2 separate regions of the Homo sapiens genome follow, and region 1 is linked to region 2. The links are contacts of gene promoters, found by promoter capture Hi-C in human tissues and cell types (Jung and others, 2019). All regions are on one chromosome and are shown on one strand. Each heading gives the region's core, a stretch centred on a gene start or on the middle of the fragment in contact. The rest is flanking DNA. Distances are from core to core; before and after follow the strand shown. Region 1 has its middle 65 kb from the start of MCM5. Region 2 holds the start of RASD2 (RASD family member 2).

What was found. The method cuts DNA at HindIII sites, captures the fragments that hold promoters and counts their contacts. A contact is called where the count stands out against the background at its distance.
Region 1: a fragment that was not itself captured here is called in contact with the fragment with the promoter of RASD2 in region 2 in 2 of the 25 tissues and cell types used here (adrenal gland and dorsolateral prefrontal cortex).

Annotation. Positions count from the first base shown.
Region 1 is chr22:35,463,582-35,467,603 of GRCh38, forward strand. No RefSeq gene overlaps it. Among named protein-coding and RNA genes, the nearest start is that of MCM5, 65 kb to the left of the region's middle. The HindIII fragment of the contact is 6,473 bases long and covers 1-4,022 here.
Region 2 is chr22:35,538,367-35,542,287 of GRCh38, forward strand. RASD2 (RASD family member 2) reads left to right here and starts at 2,465. Exons shown (of 3, transcript NM_014310.4): 1 at 2,465-3,134. RefSeq lists enhancers at 1,127-1,689, 1,690-2,252, 2,253-2,815 and a silencer at 1,937-2,156. The HindIII fragment of the contact is 17,894 bases long and covers 1-3,921 here.

The DNA of each region.
Region 1 (4,022 bases), core at 1,095-3,594, 75 kb before region 2:
ACTCAGTTATCTATCCACCCACCCATCCACCTATCCATTCACTCATCCATCCATCTACCCATTCATCCACTCATCCATTCATCCATCCATCCACCCATCCACCCATCTATCCATTTGCCCACTCAGTTATCTATCCATCCACCCATCCACCCATCCATTCACTCATCCATCCATCTACCCATTCATCCACTCATCCATCCAGCCATCCATCCATCCATTCATCTGCTCATCCACCCATCCATTCATCCACCCATTCATCTACTTACTTACTCATCCATCCATCCATTCATCTATCCTCACTTTTGCTGTGTGCCAGGCCCTGAAGGCACAGCCATGAATAAGAGAAACACAGGCCCTCTTCTCATCCATCTGGAAGACAACAATTAAATAATTGCTTTAAACAAAATGCTATAGGACAGTGTCCTGCTCCGGTGAAGGTAGCCTTTTGTAATAGTGCTCTAGGTCAAGAAGAAGACAGACTCTATTTTAGCACACCAAGTGGTAGAACAGCAAGTCTGGCTGTCTTTGGGGAAGTCCACCCTGGGACCAGATCTCGGTGCTGGTCTCACCATCTCCCCTTCCCTACCTGCAGTGTCTGAAATCTTCCAGTGCTCTCCTGCCCCAACCCTTTCAACAGCAGAGGAAATAGAGGGACAGACAGAGGACAAAGAAGGGGCTCCAAGAAAGATGCTTGATGGTCATTGCAGAAGGCAAGGCCCAGGGTCTAGCTGTGAGGCCCTGTCCCTTGGTTGGGATCAAGTTGACAAGACAAGAGCAGCTGCCCCATGTGTGGCAGGAAGCTATTGCTGAGACCTGGAAGTTGAGTGATCATTATTTTGGATTCTGGCAGTAGGGAGACCATATTGTTTTGTATTTTGTTCCCACCCTCACACAGTAATGATGATGCCAGTGAGGACAACACTGGTTAACACTTCTGCGGGGGAGGTTTGCCCTGTACCAGGTGCAGTTATGTGCCCTGGATACCTATGACTAATTAGAGGTAGGGCTGCTGCCAGCATCCCTTAAACAGGTGTGGCCCCTGGAGGCACAGGGCTGTGAAGTAACTTCCTAAACTCACTCAGCTGTGGCAAAACCAAGCGAGGCCCTTGTAGCTGGGGTTACACTGGAGAGTCACACTCTTCCACGGACTGCCTCAACTACTCCACTCTGCCAACTCAACTATTAGCAGAATGGTGCCTGGGGTAACAGTGGACCACCAAGGACAGTAAAAGTCTCCAAGCACACTCTTTAGGCAGTGGCATGAGGTAGTGGCAGCTTGCCCTCTTCAGGGGGATAAGAGGATAGTGGCTGAGAGTGGTATCCTGGAGCCAGTCTCCTGGGTTTGAGTCCCAACTCTGCCTTTTACTACCGTGTGACTTTGGGCAACTTACCCTCTCTGTGTGTCATTTTTCTCATCTATAAAATAAGACCACTCACAGTGTTTCCGTCAAGGTTGATGTGAAGATTAATGGGATAATGGCGGTCAGGAGCTTGGCCTCGGTCTTATTTCTGTATCAGCTGGGGGACTGTGGGCAGGTACTCAGCCTTTCTAGACCCCACTTTCCTCTTATCTGGGATGAAAAGAAACCCAGCTGGGACCTCACACATGACAAAGGCTCAGTGAGGTGGAGAGTCCCAAGCAGATGAGAGGGATGTCTGGTTGCAGGGCAAAGGGACTGGGTCCTAGGAGTATTTGGATGCGTGGCTGGGTTGGATGAGGCAATCGACAGTGGACAGGCTGTCCTGGGAAGCCTGCTCCCCAGCTGCCTGGGGTGAATGCCAGGGCCTGCAGCTTTCACAGGGGCCGTGGCTGGGGCCAGCATCCGTGCATTCTGGGGCCTGGTCTTGCTGCCTCTTTGAACACTGGCTTCAGGTGTTCAAATTCCTATGGTTCAGTGTCCTCCCTGCGGTCCTGAGTAGCACTGCAGGGCTGTGGCCAGGAGCCCAGGGCTGGTGTTTGACCTTCTGGGCCTATGAGTGCCGAGGTGGCCAGGGCTCCTCTCGGCCTCCTCAGTGTGTTAGGTCTTTCTCCTTTTATTTTTATTTATTTATTTGAGACAAGGTCTTGCTCTGTTGCCCAGGGTAGAGTGCAGTGGGACCATCGTAGCTCACTGCGACCTTGAACTCCTGGGCTCAAGTGATCCTAGGACTACAGATTCCAGTAGCTGGGCCTACAGACATGTGCCACCACATCTGGCTAGTTTTTTTGTTTGTTTGTTTTTGAGATGGAGTCTCGCTCTGATGTCCAGGCTGGAGTGCAGTGGCGCGATCTCAGCTCACTGCAACCTCCACCTCCCGGGTTCAAGTGATTCTTCTGCCTCAGCCTCCCAAGTAGCTGAGGATTACAGGCGCACACCACCATGCCAGGTTAATTTTTGTATTTTTTGTAGAGATGAGGTTTCACTGTGTTGGCCAGGCTGGTCTCAAACTCCCAACCTCAAGTGATCCATCCATCTCAGCCTCCCAAAGTCATGCCTGGCTAATTTAAAAATATATTTATTTTTATAGGGACAAGTTCTTGCTATGTTTCCCAGGCTGGTCTCAAACTTCTGGGCTCAAGTGATCCTCCTGCCTCGGCTTCCCAAAGTGCTGGGATTACAGGCATGAGCCATCCATCTGGCCGCTCTTTCTTTTTAAATTATTTATTGAAAAAAATTAAAAAATTTTTATGGGTACATAGTAGGTGTATATATTTACTGGGTAGATGAGATATCCATTACCTCAAGCATTTATCCTTTGTGTTACAAACAACCCAATTATACTGTTAGTTATTTTGAAATGTACAATTAAATTATTATTGGCTATAATTACCCTGCTGTGCTATCAAATACTAGATCTTATTCATTCCTTTTTTTCTGAGACAGGGTCTTGTTCTGTCACGTAGGCTGGAGTACAGTGCTGTGATCATGGCTCACTGCAGCCTTGACCTCCTGGGCCCAAGCAATCCTCCCACTTCAGCCTCCCAAGTAGCTGGGACTATAGGTGTGCACCACCATGTCCGGCTAATTTTGTTTATTTTTTACAGAGACAGGGTCTTACTATGTTTCCCAGGCTGGTGTTGAACTCCTGGGTTCACAAATTCCTCCTGCCTCAGCCTCCCAAAGTGTTGCTATTATAGGTGTGAGCCACCATGCCTGGCCTTATTCATTCTTTCTACTATATTTTTGGACCCATTAACCATCCCTACTTTCCCCTGCCCCCCAACTACCCTTCCCAGCGTATAACCATCATTCTACTCTCTATCTCCATGGTTCAATTGTTTTAATTTTTAGCTCCCACAAATAAGTGAGAACATGTGAAGTTCGTCTTTCTGTGCCCGGCTTGCTTCACTTAACATAATGACCTCCAGTTTCATCCATGTTGTTGCAAATGACAGGATTTCATTCTTTTTTTTTTTTTTTTTTTTTGAGACGGAGTCTCCCTCTGTCGCCAGGCTGGAGTGCAGTGGCACGATCTCGGCTCACTGCAACCTCCAACTCCCTGGTTCAAGCGACTCTCCTGCCTCAGCCTCCCAAGTAGCTGGGATTACAGGCGTGCGCCACCATGCCCAGCTAATTTTTGTATTTTTAGGAGAGACAGGGTTTCACCGTGTTGGCCAGGGTGGCCTCTATCTCCTGCCCTTGTGTTCTGCCCGCCTTGGCCTCCCAAAGTGCTAGGATTACAGGCGTGAGCCACTGTGCCCAGCCTTTTGCCCATTTTAAAACTGGGTTATTAGGATTTTTCCTATAGGGTTGTTTGAGTTCCTTATCTATTCGATTATTAATCCCTTGTCAGATGTATAGTTTGCAAATATTTTCTCCCCTTCTGTGGGCTGTCTCTTCGCCTTGCTGATTGTTTCCTTTGCTGTGCAGAAGCTTTTTAACTTGATGGGATCCCATTTGTCCATTTTTGCTTTGGTTGCCTGTGCTTGTGAGGTATTTTTCAAGAAATCCGCCCAGAACAACGTCCTGGAGAGTTTCCCCATCTCCTTTTTTTCAAGTCTTATGCTTATTTATATTTATAAATATGACTTTTAGGTTTTT
Region 2 (3,921 bases), core at 1,215-3,714:
GGGAGAGAGAGGGTGACAGGGAGCCCAGGGACGAAGGGGGCAGCTATGACAAAGGGTCTGATGAGGGATGATAAAGCAAGTGGGTGGGGAGGGGGGAAGGGGAAAATAGGCACATGTGAGAAGTGTGCTGTTGCTACACAAAGCTTCCTTGGGCATCAGTTGATCCCTTATGTGTATTTGCTTATTGACTGAGCCCTACCATACCAGGAGTGGGGGAGGGCAGGAGCAGAAGACAGAGGCTGGGGCAAGTGGACCTCCCAGGGTTCTCACTCCACATGCAGCTCCCCTCGCGACTGGGATATGGTCAGTGGGACATGACCCATTCTGTTGAACAACTCTGCAGAAGCAGGGAGCAATTGGTTCTTGGGCCGTCTGCTACATTTCCGTGATGGAGGTGGCAGAGCTGGCCCAGCGACCTGAGTCTTCCTGACCCCAGCCTTCCAGGTGAAGCGTGCCACCCTGCTCACCTCCCACTGCCAAGTTCACTGCCAGCTCAAGGCTCACAGCCTGTGTGTGTCATGCCCAGCACAAACCCTCCCGGGCTGAAGCCAGTTCCCAGAGGCAAAGTCTGGATGTGGAAAATGCACCAGGCTGCAATCCTGCCACTTGCCACCAGGTGACTTTGGGCACATCCCCTTAGCCCCTCTGTGGCCTAAATTGGGGCATTAAACACAATCAGGTAGTACAGGTACTGCACCCTCCACCCCCACCTGCCCCATCCTCTCTGGTTAACTTTCCTGGAGAATCTCAAGATGTTACAGAGACAAGCAAAGCAAGTCACTTTCCATATTCAAAGTCCCAGGCCATTTTAGTACTTCTGTCATTCTGTGGACCCATCAATATCATACCCATTTTAGAGATGGCACAACCAGGACCCAGAGACTTTTCATGACGGCCCAGGGTCAGATATCTAGGTAGTTACGGAGACAGGACTTGAACGCCAGTCTCTCAGCCAATGGAGCTGACCCCTCAGGTGCCCTCCCAGACCCCTGCGTCCTCTCATGAGGTAGGGAGGCCAGATCTGGGTTGGGGGTGAGGCTGGCAGACATCCCTGAGGTCCAGGGATCTGGAACTGAGGGACACAGACACAGCATCCCATCCCTTTGCTGTATCACACAACGAGAACATTCTCTTTTAAGCCTCCTGATATGTGAAGGAGAAAGTCTCTGTTAGGTGCTAATGGGTATTTAACACCTCTCCAAACCTTGCCAATCTCCCTTTTTCACTGAGGGCACACATCTCAAGCCTTGGCAGGCCACGGTTTCCAGCTGGAATTTAATAACCTTGCTTTGTTTTCACTGTGCTTATTTTAACTCTTACTTTCTATTTATGGCAAGTGATACTGATTTCCCATTTAAGGCAGTGATATAATGATTCTCTAAAAAAACGTGTTTAAGGGGTGGGGAAAGTGGATCTGATATTTTAAAAAATATATTAAGTAATAAGTGGTGTGGAGATATGGCCCAGTGAGAAGGCCCGATGTCTGGCCTAGGTCAAGCCCCTCATTTAAAGGTGGGGAGGGAGAATGCAGGCAGGAGACGCAATGCTCAAGGCACCTGGTGTGTCCCCGTCGGCCGTGGTCTCTGAGACTCGCATGCCTCGAAGACCTCTGGCTACTAAGCCTAGGTGACTCCCCGCCCCTCTGGGCGACACGTGCATGGCCCATGTGCCAGTCCGCAGGGTCCCGTGGGCACCGTGAGCTCGGGAGGGAGGCGGCGGCTGGGACAGGCAGGTTGGACACCTGGGAGGGCACCCGGGGACTTCCGCGAAGGAGGAGGGCGCTGGAACCGTGGCGCGCTCGACCTGGCCGGGCGCAAGCCGCTGGAGACCCCGGCCGAGTGGGCAGGCGGCCGGACCCCATGCGGGTCACCTGCGGCCAGGCCGGGCGTGCGTGTGAGCGCGTGCGCAGACGTCAGCCTCCGAGGCCCGGGCCGCCTTCTGGGCAAGGTGCGCGCGCCCAGCGGCCCCGGCCCCACGCGCCCGGACACGCGGAACCGCAGACCGCGGCGCCCCGGAGGCCGCGAAAGGGATGGGCGGGGCCGGGCCGCGGGACCCGCCTCCCATTGGCCGGGCGCCGGGGCGAGGCGGGGCGCCGGGGTGGGGCGGGGCGAGCGGGCTCTGGGGGGCAGACGCTGGCGCTGGGCGGCGGGAGGCGCGGCTCGCGGGGGGCCGAAGGAGCAGGTGGGCGACGCTCGCAGGGGCGCGGGAGGGTGCCGCTGGGACCGTCATCAGGAGCCTGGGGTTCTGCCACCTTTCGGAGGGATCAGCGACCTCTTCGCCCTGCGGGTGACAGTGGGGCATCTGCCTGCGAGAGGGGGAAGGAGGGAGAACCCAGGGCCACACACAAAGTTCTCCTCATCTGGGGACAGGAGGAGGTGAAGGAGGAGGAGCCGGGTTGATGCTAACTTGGAGCTGCGAAACCTTGGGGCGGCGTTCAAGGCCCCCTCCCACACGCGCGCAGAGCAGAGCGCCCTGCTCCTCCTTCAGCTGCTGGCGTCGCCGCGCGGGGAGAAAGAAGCCGTCCCTCCGGCGCTGGGAGAGCTGCAGAGCCGCGGGCAGAGAAGGAGGCCGCGGCCGAGCCCGGCAGCCCGATACCCCCCATCCGAGCGACCCCCTTTGGGGCAGGCGGAGAAGGTGGCATAGGCGACCAGGAGGGTTCGCCCACCTGGGACACGCACCCACAGTCACCTCCAAAGGACCCCCCCTCCCCAAGTCTCTAGGAGCTGCTCCTTCATCACTGGAGTCGCCCCTACCTCTCTGCCCCCAGCCCGAGAGCCCCAGGCGGGGACCCCCGGATCGGACGTCCCCAAGCCTCCGGGCACCTGGCTCAGCAGGAGGCCCCCGGCTCGGGGCAGGGCAGGGCCGGCGGCGGCGAGCCGGAGCCCGCCCCCTGCCCGGGCCCCGCCGAGCCCTCGGAGCCCACCCATGGGGCACCTGCCCCTTGCGCCTCCTTGCCCGGCCGCGCCCAGCCCGGCGTCCCGAGCAGCGCAGGGGAGGATCCCCGCGCAGTGACCCGGGAGCCACCACAGACTCTGGGAGGCTCGGCGGCTGGAGCAGCAGGCAGCTCCCCGCAGCTCCCGGCGCTTCCAGGCAGCTCTCTGAGCCGTGCCAGAGGCCCGGCCCGCCATTCCCAGGTAGGAGACGCCCCAACAGAGCTGGGCATCTGGGGGAAGTGGAGCAGCCGGGAAGAAAGGGTAGAGGCTTGGAGGAGGAAAGCTCAGTGATTCCTTAGATGACCAGAGAAAGTGAAATTGATTGAGCACCTACTATGTGCCGGGATCGTCTGGCAACTTTGCATACCTAGAGAGAATTAAATTCGTTGAGCACCTACTGTATGTGTCAAACTGAGTGCTATACCCTTGACTTAATCCCAGGAAAGAAAGATTTATTGAGCTTCTACTATGTGCTAGTTTTGGTGCCACAGGCTTTGCATTTAAAGAGCTAGAGTAATAGCCCATTTAAATAGGAGGAAACGGGGGCTCAGGGAAGACGAGTCAACTACCACAAACACTCCTGTCCCTCTTCTGGAGCTGGCTGCAGCCTGCATTACCTGGAGGTGGGGAAGGAAGATTAAGAAGCTCCTTCGTTATCCAGAGTTCTTGAGCTTTTTCTGGGTTGGTGCAGAGTGAGTTTCCTGGATGATTCCCTTCCCAGGAGGGGTTTCCTGTAACTTAGCTGTCTTGGAGGGCCCGGAAGGCAGCTCTGGAGGCCTCTCTGTGCCCTCCCCTCCCCTTGTCCCCAGCACCAGGAGGATGACAGGGGATGTTGTCCAAGACCTCATGGAAGGTGGGAAGCCAGGCTGGGAGGGAGCAGCCAGGTCAGGAGCCAGTGAATCAAGCCTCCTGTGGTGTCAGAGACAAGATGGGGTCCCTGCAAGACCTGCGCCTGCATTCCAGTCCAGCCTCACCAGGCTGCTCTAGG